3 separate regions of the Homo sapiens genome follow, and all the other regions are linked to region 1. The links are contacts of gene promoters, found by promoter capture Hi-C in blood cells and fetal thymus (Javierre and others, 2016). All regions are on one chromosome and are shown on one strand. Each heading gives the region's core, a stretch centred on a gene start or on the middle of the fragment in contact. The rest is flanking DNA. Distances are from core to core; before and after follow the strand shown.

Evidence for each region. Contacts are between HindIII fragments. The CHiCAGO score rates a contact against its expected background, and 5 or more counts as called.
Region 2: a fragment that was not itself captured here is called in contact with the fragment with the promoter of OR52L1 in region 1 in 2 of 17 cell types (M0 macrophages and M1 macrophages); the score reaches 5.6 in M0 macrophages.
Region 3: the fragment with the promoter of CCKBR here is called in contact with the fragment with the promoter of OR52L1 in region 1 in 4 of 17 cell types (M2 macrophages, M1 macrophages, monocytes and 1 more); the score reaches 7.5 in M2 macrophages.

What each region holds. Positions count from the first base shown.
Region 1 is chr11:5,985,033-5,989,169 of GRCh38, reverse strand. It overlaps OR52L1 (olfactory receptor family 52 subfamily L member 1), which reads left to right and starts at 2,185. Exons shown (of 1, transcript NM_001005173.3): 1 at 2,185-3,278. The coding sequence starts at 2,240. The coding sequence ends at 3,229. It overlaps LOC124902621 (a long non-coding RNA gene), which reads left to right and starts at 4,094. Exons shown (of 2, transcript XR_007062564.1): 1 at 4,094-4,137. It also overlaps a transcript of OR56A3 not described here. The HindIII fragment of the contact is 2,597 bases long and covers 2,062-4,137 here.
Region 2 is chr11:6,296,764-6,300,900 of GRCh38, reverse strand. No RefSeq gene overlaps it. Among named protein-coding and RNA genes, the nearest start is that of CAVIN3, 22 kb to the left of the region's middle. The HindIII fragment of the contact is 994 bases long and covers 1,616-2,609 here.
Region 3 is chr11:6,257,641-6,261,777 of GRCh38, reverse strand. It overlaps CCKBR (cholecystokinin B receptor), which reads right to left and starts at 1,940. Exons shown (of 5, transcript NM_176875.4): 1 at 1,699-1,940. The coding sequence starts at 1,849. The HindIII fragment of the contact is 1,486 bases long and covers 1,246-2,731 here.

The DNA.
Region 1 (4,137 bases), core at 936-3,435:
ATTATGAGATTCCCCTGGATGTCTCAATAAAAATGTCATTGTTATTTCAAGTTGATTCTAGAAGAAAAACAGAGAAACTTGGGAGATATATGCCCACGTGGCATTTCAGACTTTATAGCTATCATATTCAGAGTTTTAGGGCAATATGATTGTCATCATTAATTTGTACAAAAAGAGCTCTGAGTAATCTATGGATGCATTATCCACAAGAACTAAGTCATTCTTGACTTTTTAATCTTTACACGCACATGTGCACCACCACTCCAACAGAGAAAAATACAGTTATTTCAGACTACGCCTGTCCTTTAAGACAAACATACCTACATACACATATCCAGTTTCAAGTTTTTTCTTTTAGTAAATTTCAAGGGTGAATCCCATGGACAAAGTTGATACTTCATGTTAACATGCGGTTGTCAAAGACACTGAATTGTTTGTTATAATATCATGATGAGAGGTAAACATATCAAAAGTTTGAAAAAGAGAAGCAGAGTCATGGAGACAAAGAAGAAAAGAAAGAAGCCTGTGGTCTAATTCTCAGTCATCTTCTATTGCTAATATTAAAATAATTATAACTATAATTTGTAGACTAATCTAGATATCAAGACTTTACATATATTACTTAATTAATGTTTACAATAAACCTGTAAGATTGATGTTAGTTATAAAATAAGGAAATCAAGACTGAGAGAGTTTTAGTATCCTGCCAAGGTTTTATTCCTAGAATATGAAATGGACAAAATTTAAACTAAGTCTGTCTTCCTCCATTGCTTTTATTTATCTCACTACATTGTGAAATGTTCACCATGCTATGTTATAATTATAAAGTATAATAAGATATGTTTCTTTAAAAAAACAAACCATTAAGACACTGATAGAATTTCTAGAGATAAGTCAGAAAGTTATGGATGAATAAAGGAAGATTATAAAGTGCTCTGAACATAATCAATATTCATCTGACATAGGCAATGAGTCCTTTTGAGGGGTGACAGTGGACTTTGAATTTTGAAGGACCAATTCAGATAAAGGAATTTGGAGACAGACTACACAAAAGGCATAGGTAAGCTTGGTGTGTACATGTAACTCCAAGAATGCAGGGATGGTTAGTAAAACATATGTAGAAATATATCAACTGTAAGACAAAAGTAATGCAAAAAAGATAACTTTTGATAATCTTTTATGCCAGTCTCAAAGTATGATTTTATTCCATGCAATAAATTCACCAAAGGATTTTAATCTTAGGAGTGATATGATGAGATCTGCATTTTAGAAAAAAAACCCATGACTTCAGGGTTGAGAGTGAATTGGGAAGGTGTTTATGGCAAAGGCAGAAAGATGTTATGAAATAGTCCAGGTGAGAGAAGTTGGGTGTAAACTAAGGTAGTGATATTGGGGGTTGAGAAGAAGGAGTGGATATAAGAGGGGTTAACATAAAGTCAACATGAATTGGTGAATGAATAAAAGGGGATGAGGATTATGAGTAAAGACAGGTTCCAAGTTTTTAGATTGGGTTGTGTAGGTAGCTAGGGATGTAATTAAAAATTATTGCCAAAACATAAGTAGAACAAATTTGGGAAAAATAGGTGAATTAATCCAATGTTGAATATGTTGAGGATGTGGTGTATAGATATTCATAAAGCAAATGGAAAAATGGATTTATATTTCAGAAGGATATTTGGGTAAACAGACATAAATTTGGAAGAAATAAAAGTATATAAACAGTTAAAACCATGGGAATAAATGAAGTCAATTAAGAGATAATGCACAGAATAGGGAATACAGGAGAGGATGGATCCCTGGAATCAATGACATAATGAGATAGAGAAAATGGTGGGACCAAGGCTACAGGGGGAACAACTCTGGAGTGCCATGTCATGGAAACTGAGGAAGACTAATTTCAAAAACAACAGATTGATTCACAGTGGTCAGTAATACCAAGAGGCTAATAAAAATAACTCTTTGAAGTTGACAGTTCCAAAATATAAGCAACTGAATAGTAGAGTTTAAGCATCTCTCCAAAAGCAGCTTATGTTTACTCTTATCTCTAAACAAAACTAAGCTTGTATTAATTCAGACATGTGGATGTCTCACTTGTAAAAGAATTATCTCCACCAAAGGAGATTTTCTTCCCTGTAGCTAACTTTATTCCCTTCGTTTGCAGTTGAAGTCACTTTATTCTTCTCAGGATGATGGTTGCCCCATTTGGACAATGTGATAATGTAGCAGGAATGCAGAAATCATGACTTTGGTTTCTTTTTTCTCTTTCCTCTCCAAGCCATTGATAATGCTCCTTAGCAATTCAAGCTGGAGGCTATCCCAGCCTTCTTTTCTCCTGGTAGGGATTCCAGGTTTAGAGGAAAGCCAGCACTGGATTGCACTGCCCCTGGGCATCCTTTACCTCCTTGCTTTAGTGGGCAATGTTACCATTCTCTTCATCATCTGGATGGACCCATCCTTGCACCAATCTATGTACCTCTTCCTGTCCATGCTAGCTGCCATCGACCTGGTTCTGGCCTCCTCCACTGCACCCAAAGCCCTTGCAGTGCTCCTGGTTCATGCCCACGAGATTGGGTACATCGTCTGCCTGATCCAGATGTTCTTCATCCATGCATTCTCCTCCATGGAGTCAGGGGTACTTGTGGCCATGGCTCTGGATCGCTATGTAGCCATTTGTCACCCCTTGCACCATTCCACAATCCTGCATCCAGGGGTCATAGGGCGCATCGGAATGGTGGTGCTGGTGAGGGGATTACTACTCCTTATCCCCTTCCCCATTTTGTTGGGAACACTTATCTTCTGCCAAGCCACCATCATAGGCCATGCCTATTGTGAACATATGGCTGTTGTGAAACTTGCCTGCTCAGAAACCACAGTCAATCGAGCTTATGGGCTGACTATGGCCTTGCTTGTGATTGGGCTGGATGTTCTGGCCATTGGTGTTTCCTATGCCCACATCCTCCAGGCAGTGCTGAAGGTACCAGGGAGTGAGGCCCGACTTAAGGCGTTTAGCACATGTGGCTCTCATATTTGTGTCATCCTGGTCTTCTATGTCCCTGGAATTTTCTCCTTCCTCACTCACCGCTTTGGTCATCATGTACCCCATCATGTCCATGTTCTTCTGGCCACACGGTATCTCCTCATGCCACCTGCGCTCAATCCTCTTGTCTATGGAGTGAAGACTCAGCAGATCCGCCAGCGAGTGCTCAGAGTGTTTACACAAAAGGATTGATCTGAACATATTCTCATTGTTTCCTTCGGAGGCTTCTTCTGCGGACCACAGCCAGGAGCCTGTGACTGGTGTAGATTACATGAATACAGACCATTTTGCAGTGAGTATTCCTTCTAGTCTTACTAGTGCCATGCTAAAGAACACCCACAGATACTTGGCTTATTGGGATGTACCTGGATATCTGGATTTGTGAATATTTTTGCCATTTTTTCTTTTGCTCTTGATTTCAACATTTCTCTACTCCTTGTGTCAGTAGGACTTGGGGATAGGAGAAATAGATGATAGCTCTGAATGTGTCATCTTTCTCGCCTTTGCCCAATGGTAGGCCATGCAACACTGTCTGGAATTGTAAAGTCCCACCCTTTGGTTGGTTTTAGGTTTAGAGTTTCTTCAAAACCTCTAAGTTAGTGCTGGGATCCCCAGATCATTGGCTCCTGTTTACCAATAGGGTCTCTTCAAAGCAGCTGAGAAGGTCGCAGTGTAAGAAAACAGCATTTATTGCAATATGGGTATTACTTATTTATTTAAAACAAACATAAGTGGAGAAGTTATGGTAATAGGCTCTAGGAATAATAAAATATAATTTCTATTTTCAAGGAAGAAATCTATATGTGTCTAGGAAATTTATTTTAAAAGATATCTCTTTGTATTTTCAACTTATTTATATTCATGCTTTGGATAAAGAAGGAATAAGACCAAGTACTGCGTATATGTTTGTTTTATAAATATTCATTAAAAAACCCAAAAGTAACCATATAATTATTAGCATCTAATAACTACAAAATGTGCTAGATCCCGGTGTTGGTAAACATAGCTATAATAAATAAAGCAATAAGTATAGTAGCAGTTATGGACACTTAAAAATGGGTTTCTCTTTTGGAAATAGGGCATGTGGAGTGGTGTCAATT
Region 2 (4,137 bases), core at 863-3,362, 310 kb before region 1:
AACCTCCGCCTCCCGGGTTCAAGCGATTCTGGTGCCTCAGCCTCCTGAGTAGCTGGGATTACAGGCCAGTGCCACCATGCCTGGCTAACTTTTTTGTATTTTTAGTAGAGATGGGGTTTTGCCATGTTGGCCAGGATGTTCTCGAACTCCTGACCTCAGGTGATCCGCCTGTCTCAGCCTCCCAAAGTGCTGGGATTACAGGCATGAGCCAACTCGCCTGGCTTGTTTTGTTCTTTTTACTTACTTTGGCTCATCTGTCACAGAAGTCCTCTGCTAAACAAAGATGTTTGTGGATGTTTCTTCCCTGAGCAATAATTAAACAAAGTTTTTCAAATTGTCAAAATCATTCTAGCATTCTGGGGGATGCCCTTAACCTTGATGATGGACTTTCCAGCTACTAACTTGGGGCTTTATGACTCAGAAACTTGACATGTTCCCAAGGTAACATTAACTTCTGGGTTTGTTTATTAACCGTCCTAAGAAAAGGTCTCACTCTCTGCTGTTAGGAATACATGTTTTGATAATGACGGTGGTCCTACACACACTCAAGCAAGCCATAAATACCCAGGAGGGCATATACTGTGGTGAAAGATGAAGGCCTTTTTTCTGAACTGGACAAGTATCCTCAGCATTTTTCCAGCAAGCCATTATCATTACCGTCATCTATGCATTGACAATAGGATATATTAGCCATCGCTAAAGTGGGGTGCACAATCTCAGGGGCTACTCAGGACAGCCTTTTGAAATTTCCATTTTGATGATGAGATACCTGGTACAACTTCTCAGCACATTACAATGTCTGCCAAAATAGTGTCAGGACACCTCAGTCAATAGAACAGAAAAAACACCAAGTGCTTCTGAACAGGGATGTCATCATAAAGCTTCTAGAAAGTTTCTGCGCTAGGTTGCTGGGAAAGTCGCCAGACTGGGCTGCCTCAAAAGTCTCTGATACTTTGCCTTAAAGTCTCTAGGCCCTCTGTGGCTAAAACAAAGACGGGGACAAGCCATTAAAGGATAATTTAGTTCTAAGTAGCCATTAAAAGATAATTTTCATAAACAGGTAAGATCAGTACTCTTATACAGATATAAGAATAAACATGAGTTAAAGTTTTTATTTAACTAATTCATGAGGAAAGCAGTGAAGTATTACAACCAGGTGAAAGGAGAATCCCAAGGACAGACACATTTATAGATCCGGAATATTAAAATGACTGTGCAAATACAGCCAGATGGGGTTTTTTTTGTTGTTGTTGTTGTTTTACCGGACAGCATTCATTTGCATATCTATAGACAAGAATGATTTAGCATTGCTGCCAGTTATCTACACTTTATAGAGCTGCAAAACAGCTCCCACAGAATTGGAATCAGACAAGTCAGGTGTGCTCTGGAATGACAACACGTAATTTTCAAATTAAGCACAATTTTTTCCTTATAGTCCCCCCACTTTTTATTACAAAGAACCTCAAAGATTCTTGATGACAAAATGAGTATGGTCTTATTAGATTCGGCCTGGTTCTTTAAACAGGTGCAGCAAGACTGTTAACCATATGGGCCTTCTTTAAGTTTTTTCCGCTAGAGGTTCTCTAAGAAATCTCAGCTTGATCTTTTACAAGCTTCTATTCATTTGCTGTCTTGAAGCTAAGATGGTAAGTCCAAGGAAATTTCTCCATAAGATTTCATCTGTAGTATCTATACATTTTGGCCTAATTCCTTTCTTCTTGAATCTTCCTTCCTTCCTTCCTTTGCCATGTTGGCCAGGCTCGTCTCGAACTCCTGACCTCAGGTGATCCACTCGTTTCAGCCACCCAAAGTACTGGAATTATAGGCATGAGCCACCGTGACCAGCCTCTTCTTGAATTTTTCAAAACCTCTCAAGGCTCTTGGCCTGCCACGAAAGTGACCTCCCTTACCACCTCCAAGGCTGGATCCTGGATAAATCCAGGTACCAGGACGGTTTTCCTTGGACAGATTTGCCAGCACTGGCTCCATCAAATCAACCTTAGTTTCCTAAAAGGGGCTGATCATGCACAGGCTATGGCTTCCCTGGGCTGGCAGGAAGCTCCTCTGCAGCTGCTGTTCACAGAGCTGCAGCCTGGTGGCCACTGATGCCAAAGACTGGGTACTTGGAGCCACTGGTGCGCTGGTCAGCAGAGGGCGTGCTCCCTGCCACCTGGGCGGAGAGGACTGGGGAGGATGAAGTAGGGTGAGGTTGGTGGGCTTACTACCTTAATGCTAACTCTCACAGCTGTTTGGAGATGAGCCCACCACCACCTGCCCCTGCTTGTCTCAAATCTTTTCTAAAAAGGACAAAAGAGGCTCACCAGTTGTTCCTCGTGTTCCTGGTTACAAATTATTTGGCAAAGTTTATCCCAGAGATTATCTTTAGAAAACTTTCAAAAATAATTTAGCAAAAGTATGAAGCACAAACAGAAGGACCTGTCAACCACCATGTCAGGCTTCAAGACATAAGAATTTCGAATCTGAACCATTTTTACCTGTACTCTGATTTCCAGGTATGAGCCATCATATGATTGATTACTGCTTTTATGTTCTGCTTAAGAAATCTTTGCCCACTCCAAGGAAATCTTGTCAAATCATTAGAAGAAGCTTTAGGTCACCAACAAGAATGTGGGACTGTGAATCAGTCTCAAAATCAAGAAATTAAAGCAGTCAAAAAAAAGAAAGAGAGAGAAGGAAAGAAAGAAAAAAAGAAAGAAGGAAAGACAGAAAAAAGAAAGAAGGAAAGAAAGAAAACAGTAATTTAAACAGGAAGAAAATATTGCCAGTTGCAGTGGTTATTTGGACCAGTGAAAAATAAGGCATAGTAGGAGAAAAGGTAAATTATGTTCAGGGGTTGCCCCCTAGTGTTCCTGGGCAAATTTGTAGTCTCACTGTAGGAAATGAATGGATTATCATTCCTGACCTTTATGAACTAGTCCTCTCAAGAGGAAAGGAGTGGTGAAAAAACTTTGGTGAAACAAGTTCTCTCTGAACACATCATTCTCTCTGATAGAGAAGGTGTACCTGTTGGCGATCCTGGTGCTGGTCTGGAATTAAGCTGGACAGATCCTATGCATTGCCATCTCTCTACCTACATCTTTTAGAAGAGTGGCCATTTCATGATGTTTTACATAGTATGGTAGCAGCATATTTATGTTACAGTCCTGATGTTAGTTATGTCCAAGGATGCATGTCATTGTGGTAATGCTCATTCTCAATTTGGAAGAGACCAATGCCTTCACTGCATTTGCAAAGATCTCATAAATAAGTCACGCCAGTTGGTCTTCTGTGTGGATCACAGCAAGGTGTTAAGATATTTTGCAACGTTTGAAGTATTCTCTGAAGACAATTTCTTCAGATTGTTTCTTCAAGTCTTATGGCCTTACACCAGGCACATGCTTAATAGATAGGATCTTCACACTGTATCATAAATCACTACTCTACTTGATCTGTTCTATCCAGTCTGAGATGTTTTACAGAGACAGGAAGAAATTTTTATTTAGAACTGGACTAGGAACCCTTCATCTGTATGAAGATAGTTTCCTACAGATGGACTTGATTCATATTGCACCTTGTCTAACTAAACGGGCAGAGGCTATCATATCAGAAAAGCTGTTTAGCTGTATTGCAGTCACCTGGACACAGAAGAGTACCAAGAAATGGCCCTAGGTCTTTGTGTCTGTAATGAAGCATATTAAAGAAGGAGATAAGGATATTTTTAAAATGTAGCATATTTAAAGTATTAGAAGTTCAAATCCATTATTTTCTGGGAATTTTAAGAATATTCTTTTTATATAAGTGCTTATTTATCTCTATCAGCCAATCAGAAAAGAGCCTCTTTAAAAAGAGATTGATAATCTAATTTATTAGTATTATCTAGAGGTAGGAAAATTTTACATACTTACACTGTGAAAGGTAAAGATCTTTCTAAATTATGGACACATAGACAAACAGAGACAAAGAAATCTTATACTTCAATTAAAAATTCCATCATGGGTTAAGGGTAATAAAGAAACCCCAAAACTCACCAGTCTCAGTATGAAAGATTTGTTCTCCTTCCCAGTGAGCCCAGGATTCTTAATTCATTTGGGCTTAAAGTAGACAAATAGACAAACAAAAAGAACTAATAATCCAGAT
Region 3 (4,137 bases), core at 691-3,190, 270 kb before region 1:
TAGTACTACCGAATCTTTTAGTAGTTCCTATTGCCCTCGGGAGAAAGTCCATGTTCCATGGTCAGGCCTAGCAGGCTCTCTGCAAACCCTCTAGGCTGGTCTCCAGCCTGTTCATTATTCCCTTCTTAAGATATATGTTCTAGTCACTCAAAACTATGTCACAGTGGATAAAAGTGCCATGAATTCAAACTTTGAGCTTCTTATACATCTTGTCCTTTTATTTGGGATGCTTTCTGCCTCTTCTGCCCGTTCACTTGGCTGGCTCTCCCATATGTATATGTGTGTGTGTGTGTGTGTGTGTGTGTGTGTGTGTGTATATATATTTTTTTTTTTTTTTTTTTTTGCCAACAGGAAGCTTAGAGCCAGCCTCCCTAATTTTTTTGACTTTGTAGCTCATTTCCTCAAGAGGCCAACTTTAATTCTCAAGGAGGCTGGGCTGGGCTAGAGGTGTTCCACTTGTGTTCCCACTATCTTTTCCCTGTCAAGGCTCTTCCACTTTGTGCTGCAATCCCCTGCTTTTCTGTCTCGCCCATTAAACTTTGAGCTCTGTGAAGTAGGAATTGTGTCGGTTTTGTTCAACTTACATTCCCACTGCCTAGCACAATCTCTGGTTCAATAAATATTGGCTGAATGACAGAATCCAAGTGTGAGTGTGTAACAACTCGGCTGAGAAAGCATAGATTATTTCGTGGGGTAAATAAATACTTGGATTACAATTTATTCCAACTTTCCCTTTTTGAGTTTAGAAAAATTTCCTTCTGCTTAACATTGCTCCTTCACCTAGAATCCCACTCCTTCCTTTTCTGCCTACTCAACTTCAAGACCCAGCTCTAAGGTTCTAGCCTCTGTGAAGTTCTTTTGGTGCCCACAGTTTAGACCCTTTCATGGGACTTCCATTGTGTCTGTGATTTTTCCATTTGCTTGGTTTCTCTCTGCACTTGGCTATGGGCCATGAGGGTCCAGACTGGGTCTAGTTTGCCCTGTGCCCCCAGCACCTAGCCTAGGGCTGGAGAGAGAGCTTGGAAGATAGCTGGAGACATTACTTGCAGACAAAGAGAGAGGGCACAGAGCCTCGAAAGCTCCAACTAGGGAGGCAGAGGGGTTTGAGAAGGAGTGAAATGGAGGCAGGCAGCTCTAAGGAGCATCCCCTAGTGTCCAGCCTAATTCAGATTTGAGGATCTTTTTTGGGATGGCTGGGGGCTGGGGTGTCAGATGTGATCACAACTTCAGCTTCGCATTCAAGCTTTCCAGAGTGCTCCCTCCCTCAACCAGCCCCCTTCTTTTCCCAGTCCTGCCTTCCTTTCTTCCTTCCCTTCTCTGTTGTGGCTCTGTGAACTGGATGTAAGAGGGAAAAGGAGATCTGCAGGGTTGGCAAGAGGAGGTCCTCGCCTTCTGACTGGTGTCTAGGAGGGGCTGCGTGTTGGGGAAGGGGCTGTGCTTTGGGGTGAGCAGGGGCTCTAGGTGTATTCAGGGGACCAGGATGTGAAGGAGTTCCGACCAGGTGGTGTGAAGCTGTGATGAAGTTGTAGGCTGTGGGGGTGAAGGTGTGAGGGGAGCTGTTTGGGGGCTGAGGGAGTACTATGAGAGGCACGGTGTGGACGTTTGAGAAGGTAGTGTGGAGCTCGTTGGGGGGACTCTATTAGTGTTCTGGGGTACAGTGAGAAATAGCTTGTGGGGGGGGCTGAGGGAGGCACCCACCTCGTGTCCCGGCTCCGCGAATGCGAGGGGGCTCGCAGCTGAGGTTGCCCACACTGCTGCTGTTGAGGAGAGGCGCCCCCGGGCGGCACAGGGAAGCCCCCGGCCCGGGTCCGGTTCCCTGCACGCTCCGGTTCAGCTTTAGCAGCTCCATGGCCCCCGCCGAGCCCGCCGCCTTACTCAGCTCGACCCGGCGGGCTCCCAACGCGGCTCCACCTGCTCACGCTGCGATTCCGGCTCAGGCTCCCGCCGCCCTCCTCTCCCTGCCCCCTGCCCCGCCTGGTCCCCGCCCCCAGCCCAGGCGCCTGCCCTCCACTCTCCCGCGGCTCGCCCCGCCTGGGTTCCCGTCCCTCCGCCAGCCTCTGTCCCGCCAGGTGACTGTGCACCCCCTCCCTGGCTCGGGAGTTCTGCCCCTCCCTGTGCGACTGTCCTCCAGGCTCGCCCCCTCCCTAGATGTGTCCCGTCTCCTCTTAGAGATTTCTCTCCTGCCCACCTCTCTTTATCACCCGCCCCCACCCCCGATTCCCAGGAATGAGAGAGAGAGAGAGAGAGAGAGAGAGAGAGAGAGAGAGAGAGAGAGATTGAAGACAAGAGTATTGGCAGCGTAGGGGGAGGTTTCGGGGAAGGGAGGGTAGGAGGGGTTGGGTAGAGACGGCTGCCACGGATCCAGCATCTTTCTCTGGTGTATCAGGGAACGTGGAGGTGGCGTTGGAGACCAGGTCTGCGTGCGTCACCTGCTGAGGCGCGGATGCTTTAGTCTGAGCCTAGAGCCGCATTTACCGTACTGTGTTGCAGTGGCCGCAGTGACCGTGACACTATTGCTACCGTAGTTCCCTGCAGCTCCTCGCTGCGGGCCTGGGGTAGCTCCTGCATCTGTCTCCGCACCCTCCATCTCCTGTCTGAGGCTTAACACTCAGGCTTGCACTTAAGGGTCCCAAGGAGCCCTCCACAGCTGGGCGGGAGTGGGGGTGGGGCCGGGGCCGAGATTTGGCTCCAGGGAAGCCTTGCCAGGGAAAAGGGCTCCCGGGAGGAAGCTTCTGACTTGAGTGTTGAGGGCAGTTGGGGGTGGTGGCAAGCACTGACAAGGATAAACCAGAGTAAGGTGAGGATGGGATATAATTCTAACGCCGGCCCAGCGCAGGCAAAAGAGAAGGAGAAGGTTGGCTTTCTCCACCGTCTCCAGGCAGCGCCCACGCCCACCCGACACGCTAACGCTCCCTGTTTGCTCTCAGTGCAGGCAGAGCTGCCTGTGTAGGGTGTCAGGTTCCCACGAGAGGGGGCTAGAAGGGGACTGGGTCACTGCGGTGCAGCGGGAACAGGGCTGAAGGGTGCAGGACTGAACTGGGTTCAGCTTCTCGGGGCAGGATTTGCCTCTTCTACTATTTCAGCCCTGCTCCCTATGCATTCTCCTATCCATTCCTTTTCTTCCCCAGATTCCTATCTCCAGATTCCTATCTCCAGATTCCTATCCATTCTTCAGATTCCGGATGAACTCCAATACGATGTGAAATTCTTCTGACCCCCAGCAGTAGCTGTAAGAGGTTGGGGGCGGGCATCAGTGGAAGAGCAAATTAGAGAATGGAGTCTGGCTTTATGGGGGATTCAGCAGGCCCTTATCCAATTAATCTTTTGGAGAGGACCTGGTTCAGCCAGCCCTGAGTTTATAGGGGCTGAAGCATTGAAAGAGAGTTGAAAGACAGTTTATGCCTGAGATGTCATCAACTGCTCCCCCTTTCCTTCCTCCTGGTACTGCCTGTCTTGCCCATCAGAGAGCCTGGACCAGAGGAGCTTGATTTGCTATTTGTTCCGCTCCAGCACAGGTGGGGCCTCAGATAACCTGCTCAAGTTTTCCCACATTGGATGACAGTACGATGAGGAGGGAAGGGAGCAAAGGATGTAAGGGAGAGGGGAGTGAAAATAGAAATAGATGGACATTCACTTATTTAGCAAACTATGCCAGTTCTAGGGGTATGCACTAGTTGTCCAATATAGTTTGCCCCTCAGTAGCACCTACTCTAGTGGGATTTTCCCAAGCAAGCCAATGATTGTAATATATGGTCGTTAAGTGCACCCACCAGGATGTACAAATCAGAAATTTAGGAATTATTATTGATGCCTTACTCCCCTATGCTCCTTCACCCCTGCGCTGGATGCTGTGATGCAAAGCCCAGAACCCTCTTCAAAAATGGAGGATTTATTTTCCAGCTGTGGAGAGTGCTCCTAAAAGATGGCCCTCAGCTGTCATAACCCTTCAGGAGTTGCCTAAGCAGAAGAAAGCCAGCTCATCCAAGGTTATGCTCCCTTTCTTGGGCATTCTATATCCAATGACCGATCAGCACAGAGGTATAAAAGTTTAATCCCCTCAACCCAGTGGTGGACAACTCTGAAAGATGCTCACACCCCTAGAACCCTTCATATGGTTGACTGAGGTCTTTGCTGGGA